3 separate regions of the Homo sapiens genome follow, and all the other regions are linked to region 1. The links are contacts of gene promoters, found by promoter capture Hi-C in human tissues and cell types (Jung and others, 2019). All regions are on one chromosome and are shown on one strand. Each heading gives the region's core, a stretch centred on a gene start or on the middle of the fragment in contact. The rest is flanking DNA. Distances are from core to core; before and after follow the strand shown. Region 1 holds the start of AP3M2 (adaptor related protein complex 3 subunit mu 2). Region 2 holds the start of GOLGA7 (golgin A7). Region 3 has its middle 19 kb from the start of CHRNA6.

The links. The method cuts DNA at HindIII sites, captures the fragments that hold promoters and counts their contacts. A contact is called where the count stands out against the background at its distance.
Region 2: the fragment with the promoter of GOLGA7 here is called in contact with the fragment with the promoter of AP3M2 in region 1 in 1 of the 25 tissues and cell types used here (hippocampus).
Region 3: a contact is called between a fragment that was not itself captured here and the fragment with the promoter of AP3M2 in region 1, in 1 of the 25 tissues and cell types used here (aorta).

The regions. Positions count from the first base shown.
Region 1 is chr8:42,151,764-42,154,411 of GRCh38, forward strand. AP3M2 (adaptor related protein complex 3 subunit mu 2) reads left to right here and starts at 1,300. Exons shown (of 9, transcript NM_006803.4): 1 at 1,300-1,342. RefSeq lists an enhancer at 256-375 and a silencer at 1,206-1,815. The HindIII fragment of the contact is 9,480 bases long and covers 1-2,648 here.
Region 2 is chr8:41,489,258-41,491,905 of GRCh38, forward strand. It overlaps GOLGA7 (golgin A7), which reads left to right and starts at 1,325. Exons shown (of 5, transcript NM_001002296.2): 1 at 1,325-1,708. The coding sequence starts at 1,598. RefSeq lists a silencer at 956-1,215 and enhancers at 1,266-1,395, 1,686-1,795, 1,846-1,955. The HindIII fragment of the contact is 13,455 bases long and covers 1-2,648 here.
Region 3 is chr8:42,747,990-42,750,637 of GRCh38, forward strand. No RefSeq gene overlaps it. Among named protein-coding and RNA genes, the nearest start is that of CHRNA6, 19 kb to the right of the region's middle. The HindIII fragment of the contact is 4,793 bases long and covers 1-2,648 here.

The sequences.
Region 1 (2,648 bases), core at 50-2,549:
CAGCGACTGCATTTCTGCACCTTCGACACACATTATCACGTGTTATTGTATCTTGTGCTGTTCCTTAGGGCATAACAATTGCTAGCATTTTCTAACTCAATCCTCACAACTCTAGGAGGGAGGTACTATTCACGTTCTTATTTGAGAAGTGAGGAACTTGAAGTTTAGAGGAGTTACAGTTCTTTCTCACGGTCACTCAGGTTGTAAGTGTTGGAGCGGGTTCAAGCCAAGTCCTCTGGCACCAGCGTCCCTAAGCCCACCCAGAGTCATACCATTCTGCCATTTTGTTTCTGGCTTTTCTTCATAGTTCAAAGTCAGCCAACTACCTGCCCTTAGCAAGCGTGGAGAGAACCCCCCGCACCACCTCAGCAAAGGGCTTGTGTGTGGAGGAGCTGCCACCCACGCTCCATTTCACCAAAGTGACAACTAATGCTAGGGAGGGCGAACCTCTCATCGGCGAGGTCGCCACTGTCACCAGCGCCCACTGCTGGGTCCAAGGCTGGCGACGCCTCACCGCATCTGGGCTTGACTTCCTGCGTCACTGGGGCGACCCCTGGTCCTGACTTCCACTCCACGCCTTCGTGGATCAGGACGACTGGGACCACTCAAAAGCGTATCCAAGTCCTGAGGTCTCCAAAGCGGTGGAGAGACCCGCCCAGCCCCTCACTCCCCGGCTGGGAACTGAGATTGTGGAGGGTGGGCGCCCTGCCGCGGCCCAGTGGGGCTGGGGGCTTCCAGAGTCGGGGTCCAGGGCTCGGTGTCCGAGACTCCACCGCCAGCCGCGCCGACCTGACCCACGGCCGGGTACAACAGAGAAGGCGGCGCTTCCCAAAGGCACCGATGGAGTGCAGGGTAGCCGCCGCCCTCAGGATTTATCAACCGCGAGGCGCTGTCAGCAACTCGTGCCCGGAAGCCACCCCGCCCCGGCACACACATACTCCAGCGCCCCCTCCAGGCGCACTCCGCAAACACGCGAGCGCGGCGACCGCCCCAGCCCTTTGTGACTGGATGAGTGGGGCCGAGCAGCACGCACTGTCTTCGACCTCCAATCAGGACTCGGGGTCTCGGAGCTGTACCAATCGGAGATGACCGTGGCCTCAACAGGGCCAATCGGGGGACTCGAGCCCGACAACAGGGCAAGCCGCCAACAGCGATCAATCAGAGGGGAGGAGCGGCTCCCAGATACCCAATCAGCGGCCTTCAGGCGCAGATCGTGGGCGGAGCGGTAGCCAGGCCGCGGGCCGGCCAATCAGCGGGCGAGCGGCTGCCTCAGCGCGCGCGGCGGGCGGGGCGGGGCCTGTCCGCGCCTAGGAGCAGTGGGCGCTGAGAGCAGCAAGGCCAGGTGAGGAGTAGGGACGACCCCGAGCCTGGAGAGGGGGCAGGAGTGGGGGCGCGCGAGGGTCGGGGCGGGGTCTCAGGATGCAGCCGGGCGGCCTCTCAGGGCTGCGGACGCGGCGGGGAGAGGTGAGGGGCCGGGTTCAGAGTTCGGGGAGGGCGTCCTTCCCGGCGCCGCGGCTGCGGGCGGAGGGGACACTGTTGCCATGGCAGCGCACGTGCGCTCGCTGGCGCGGCCCGGCACCCCTGCGCTCTTCACCCCGGAACGCGCGTGCCCCTTCAGCCAGGCCCCTGCCCGCCTGCGCCCCGCGGCCTCCGTCGCCGCCGGCTCTGGGCCGGGGCCTGCGCAGGGACCGCCTGCCTAGGCCGCTGCCTCTCCCTCGCACCCCGGGCTGCCTGGCTGTCTCTCCCTCCTGCTGTCTCCTCCAGGCGGCGCTGGGCACCGCAGGCCTCTGCGTTTTGACCACCCGCGCCGGTTCGCGGAATGGCCACATCCTGGCGACTGGCACCAGAGAGATGCAACCGTCTGAGGGCCTTGGGGTGTCTGTCCCCCAGGGAAATTTTTTTTTTTTTTTGGAGGTGGAGGGGGCGGGGTTCTCCCTCTGTTGCCCGGGCTGATCTCGAACTCGTGAGCTCCAGCGGTCTGCCCGCGGAGGCCTCCCTAAGTACTGGGATCACAGGCGGGAGCCCCAAGGGATCTTTTTAAATGTCTTACTGCATTAACAAGTGCCTAAGGAGTGCTCAGAGAATAGCTCTGATTGGATGAATAAAGACCCCCAAGGGCAGCTTTCCATTCCTCCCACCAATTCTGGTGGGCAGAAATAGAAAGCAAACCACATATGTAATTGTACATGTTCTGGTAACCACTTTAAAATAATAAAACAGGTTAAATTAATTTTAATATATTTGATTTAACCCAGGATATCCAAAATGTTATTACAACATATAATCAATATTAAATTATTGGTAAGATATTTGAAATTTTTTTTTTCATGCAAAGCCTTTCAGATTTGTCGTGTGTCTTACACTTAACAGCACACCTCAGTCCGCACCAGCCACCTTTCAAGTGCTCGCTGGTCCCATAGTGGCTATCGTATTAAGCTGCGCATTTCTTGTGTATGTGTGAGCTGTTGCCAAAACATGACATCAAATTCAGTGTTCTTGGAAGCCCTCTTCAAAGAACACTGATTGTGTTGCAGTCAGGCAACGCAAAACATGAGGCACGGCCCTTTTCTTCAAGGAGTTTGCGGTTCGGTTGAGAAAATAGACACCCACAGATAAGTAGTATTTTAAATGGATGCAATTTGGGCGAT
Region 2 (2,648 bases), core at 75-2,574, 660 kb before region 1:
CAATCCAAATGTCCATCAACAGATGAATGGATAAACAAACTGTGGGATGGCCATACAATGGAATAGCTATCCAGCATCAAAAATAAATGAATTATTGATAACACAACAACAGATGGACTTCAAAATAGTCTATGTGAAAGAAGCCAGGCAAAAAAAGGGGGTACACACTATATGATTCAATTTATATAAAATTCAAGGAAATGAAACTAATGTTGAGTGACAGAAGGTGGATCAGTGCCTGGGAAATGGGGTCTGGGAGAGGCAGGAGGGAGAGATTACACAGGAGCTGGAGGAACCTTTTCAGGGCAATGGAGCTTTACTATCTTGATTGTGACAGTGGTTTATGGGTGTATTCATATGTCCAAAGTTATCAAATCCACTGCTTTAAATGTGTGGTTTATTGTATGCCATTTATATCTCGAAAAAGCTGTTTTTAAAATACAGTAAGAGAATTTTTCATATTTAAAAGGCAGGATATTTAAACTATATTAAATATATAAAAGACAGTGGTACTAACAGGTTGTATTAGCAGGAGACAAGGGTAAGGTGGGGTTTCTTTGGCTGCCTTGCAAAGAAATGCTGAGTCAAGTAAGGGCCAGTGGGCAACGAGGGCGGAACCACTTGTCCCCTTGGTCACCTGAGGGATGTGGATGGGAGCTGGGTGGAAATGGGGGGTGAGAGGAACGCCGCCCCCAAAGAAGAGTCGGGGCAGGGGCGCCCAACGCTGGGGCCCAGGCAGGTTCTTCGTCCTCACTTCCTGACCCTTTCTCAAGAGTCTAGGGACCAAATGGATCCATCCTTGGAGCCTGCTTTCTACTTCTGAACACAATGAGCAGTTTGTGTTTGAGGGTTTGGGGAGGGGGTGTTGTTTTTTCTTTATGTTTTGTTTTTTGTTTTGTGTATGAGTTGGGTGGCATAACCCACACGTAAGCTGCGACGTCCAATCAAGAACGAAAATGACCCCTCACAATCAGTGATCGGGAACCACCTGCCACAATCACTAGGGAAGTGACACAGCCGGGAAACTCCGCCCCTCACACCCCCGCGCGCTCGCGCCGGCCGCAGCCCCACAGCTCGCCCCGGCCGCAGCCCCACAGCTCGCCCCGCCTCTCTCCTTCCGGAAACAATCCCCGCGCGGGCGGAAGGCGGGGTCGGCCCTGGCCCCGCCCACATCATTTCCCTTCCTCGGCCCAGCCCCACAGCGCGCAGCTTCGGCAGGGTGGCTTTACGGCCGGAGGAGAGGGTGGGTCCCAGACCTGAGGTAGGAGGCCGAGCTGAGGGGCGGGGAAGAGGCTTTTTGCGGCAGGACGTAAGTGACGGCGAAGGCGGTGCGACAGCAGCTGGAGGGCAGAGGAGGCGGGTTTGTGTTTCCCGGGCCGAACCGGGTTGTGGGGGGCGCGGGGCCTGGGCCAGGCGGCAGCTAAGGCCCGCGGTGACAGCATGGGTGAAGGGGAGCGGGGCAGAGGAGGCCTTGGGCTGTTTTCGGCGGCGGGTGGGGGCGAGGGGCTGGCGGGTCAGAGTCCCGGGTCCAGGCCGGGGCTCTGACTCGCGGTTGGTGTTCCCCCGACCCCGCAGCGCGGGGTGTCCTGTCCTCGCCATGAGGCCGCAGCAGGCGCCGGTGTCCGGAAAGGTGTTCATTCAGCGAGACTACAGCAGTGGCACACGCTGCCAGTTCCAGACCAAGTTCCCTGCGGAGCTGGAGAACCGGGTACGCAACCTGGCTCCCCACGCCTGCTCTGGCGAGGGAGAGAGACTCACCGGGGACGGGAAGGGTGTGGGCGACAACCGGGCCTTTGAGGGTCCCGCAGTTCTGGGGAGGTCCAGGCACAGAAGGGGCCTTGGCCAAACGTGTAAGAAGAGAGCCACTAAGCAAGACAGGTGTTTGGAGCAGGAAGAATAATATAGGCCGATCGCCGGGGTTGACGACCTTATGGAACTTTGTTGCCCGGTGCCGGGAATCTGGATCCAGCAGTGTTCCCCTGCTGCACTCCCCCAAATCCCCACCCCGGGTTATTGTCGGCAGCGATGAGGAGCCAATTCCTGAGGCTCCAGGTCGTCTCAGTCACCAGGTTGTAAACTATATCCTCCTACCTCTCCGCGCAAGATAAATCATCATCATTCTCGTGACTGGTGTTTGCTGCCTCTGTGCTGGCCGCACTGTTTGGCTGAAAGGGTTTATTAGGTGCATGGCCAGGCGGTGCGTTCAGGCTTTCTTGGAACCTTAAAGACGTCGGGCGTTAGATAGGCCTGGACAGGAAAATGTCTCAGAACAAGGCCTTAAACTTGTCACATTCACTGGGAGCCACCTGTTTTGTCTTGCATATCAAAATGGTCATCAGGATATAGGTCCTTTGGGCAACATTGCAGGCAAAAATGGAAGAATGGGATTTGCTTCCCCTTCAGACCTAGCAAAACTTTAAAAAAAAAAAAAAAATCATTGTATCTTGTTGTAGAGGTAATGGAGTGTGTGCGTGCCTGCCTGTGTTTTTGTGTGCCCACATATGTACATTCAACCAAAGATTCTTTTGGTCTTGACCCATGTTATGTAGATTGTGTTTCCCGTTCAGGGATCAATTTCTGGTTAGCTGGAAGCAGGTTTTGTGGCTCTCTCCTCTGTGACAGGGAGGACGAGGGCCTGAGAGGTGATT
Region 3 (2,648 bases), core at 93-2,592, 600 kb after region 1:
CTCAAGTAATCCTCCCACTTCAGCCTCACAAGTAGCTGGGACTGCAGGTGCCAGCACACCCAGCTAATTTTTGTATTTTTTGTAGAGACAGGGTTTCACCATATTGCCCATGCTGGTCTCAAACTCCTGGACTCAAGCCATCCCTCCGCTTCAGCCTCCCATAGTGCTGGGATTACAGGCATCAGACACTGCACCTGGCTGCAATGCAATTCTTCTTTCTTTTTTTTTTTTTTTTTTGAGACGGAGTCTCGCTCTGTCGCCCAGGCTGGAGTGCAGTGGCGTGATCTTGGCTCACTGCAAGCTCCACCTCCCAGGTTCACGCCGTTCTCCTGCCTCAGCTTCCCTAGTAGCTGGGACTACAGGCGTCCGCCACCACACCTGGCTAATTTTTTGTATTTTTAGTAAAGACAGGGTTTCATCGTGTTAGCCAGGATGGTCTCAATCTCCTGACCTCGTGATCCGCCCACCTTGGCCTCCCAAAGTGCTGGGATTACAGGCGTGAGCCACTGCACCCGGCCAATGCAATTCTTAAAAGTCTCGTTTTTATATCTGATGGGCGATTAATATACAGAACATATCAAGAACTCCTACAACTCAACAATTCAAAAAACAAATAACCTGATTTTCTTTTTCTTTAGATGGAGTCTCACTCTGTCGCCAGGCTGGAGTGCAGTGGCACAATCTCCGCTCACTGCAACCTCCACCTCCCGGGTTCAAGTGATTCTCCTGCCTCAACCTCCCAAGTAGCTGGGACTACGGGTGCACACCACCACGCCCAGCTAATTTTTGTATTTTTAGTAGAGACGGGGTTTCACCATGTTGGCCAGGATGGTCTCGATCTCTTGACGTCGTGATCTGCCTGCCTCGGCCTCCCAAAGTGCTGGGATTACAGGCGTGTGCCACCACGCTAGGCCACAAATAACCTGATTTTTAAAATGGGTGAAGGACTTAAATAGACATTTCTCCAAAGAAGATATACAAATGGCCGGTAAGCACATGAAAAGATGCTCAACATTGCTAATCATTAGGGAAACACAAACCAAAACCACCACAAGACACCACCTCTCACCCATTAGGATGGCAACTGCCAAAAACCCCAGAAAATAACAAGTGTTGGTGAGCATGCCGAGAAATCAAAACCTTTGTGCGCTGCTGGTGGGAATACGTAAAATGGTACAGCACTGTGGAAAACAGTATAATGATTCCTCAGAAAATTAAAAATAGAATAACCATGGGTACAAAAAAATAGAAAGAATGAATAAGATCTAGTATTTGCTAACACAACAGGGTGACTAGTAAAAAATAATTGTACATTTAAAAATAACTAAAAATATAATTAGATTGTAACACAAAGGACAAATACTTGAGGTAACAGACACCCCATTTATAATAATCACCAATGTGATTATTACACACTGCATGCCTATATCAAAATATCTCACATAACCCATCAATATATACAAGTCCTATGTACCCACAAAAATTAAATATTAAAAAATAGAATAACTGTCTGATCCAGCAATTTCACTTCTAAGTATATACCCAAAATAACTGAAAGCAGGGACTCAGAATTATTTGTAAGCCCAAGTTCATGGCAGCAGGCAAAAGGTAGAAGCAACCCAAGTGTCCATTGACAGGTGAATGGATACATAAAGGGCAGTAAATACAGACAACGGAATATTATTCAGCCTTGAAAATGAAAGAAATGTTGACACATGCTACGATACAGATGCACCTTGAAGCTGTTACATTATGTGAAATAAGCCAGTCACAAAAGGACAAACACAATATGATCCCCCTTATATGAGGTACCCAGAGTGGTCAAATTCATAGAGACAGAAAGTAGAATGGGGGGTTGCCTGTGAGGTAGGGGAGAAGGAGCAGTAACTGCTTACTGGGTACAGGGTTTCAGTGTTGCAGGACAAAGAGTTCTGGAGATGGATGGTGCTGAAGGTTGTACAACAACATGAAGGCATTATGGGCTGGGCACGGTGGCTCACGCCTGTAACCCCAGCACTTTGGGAGGCCGAGGCGGGCAGATCACGAGGTCAGGAGATCGAGACCATTCTGGCCAACATGGTGAAACCCTGTCTCTACTAAAATACAAAAAATTAGCCTGGCATGGTGGTGTGTGCTTGTAGTCCCAGCTACTTGGGAGGCTGAGGCAGGGGAATAGCTTCAATCCAGAGGCAGAGGTTGCAGTGAGTGGAGATTGTGCCACTGCACTCCAGCCTGGCGACAGAGCAAGACTCCGTCTCAAAAAAAAAAAAAGGAGGGATTTAATGTCATTGAACTGGATGCTTAAAAATGGTTAAGATGGGAAATTTTACGTTATGTGATTTTACCACAGTTAAACAAATTTTAAATGAAATTAAACATTGATTGGGCTTAATAATAAAAAATAAAGTATTGCGTAACAACCAACCCTCTATAAAGACAGGAAGATAAAAGGTAGGTACTACAATCACCAATATTATAGGGAATAAAAATGCTCTAAAATAGAGTCATTCAGGCTGGGTGCGGTGGCTCATGCCTGTAATCCCAGCACTTTGGGAGGTTGAGGCAGGTGGATCACTTGAGGTCAGGAGTTCGTGACCAGCCTGGCCAACATGGCAAAACCCCGTCTCTACTAAAAGTACAAAAATTAG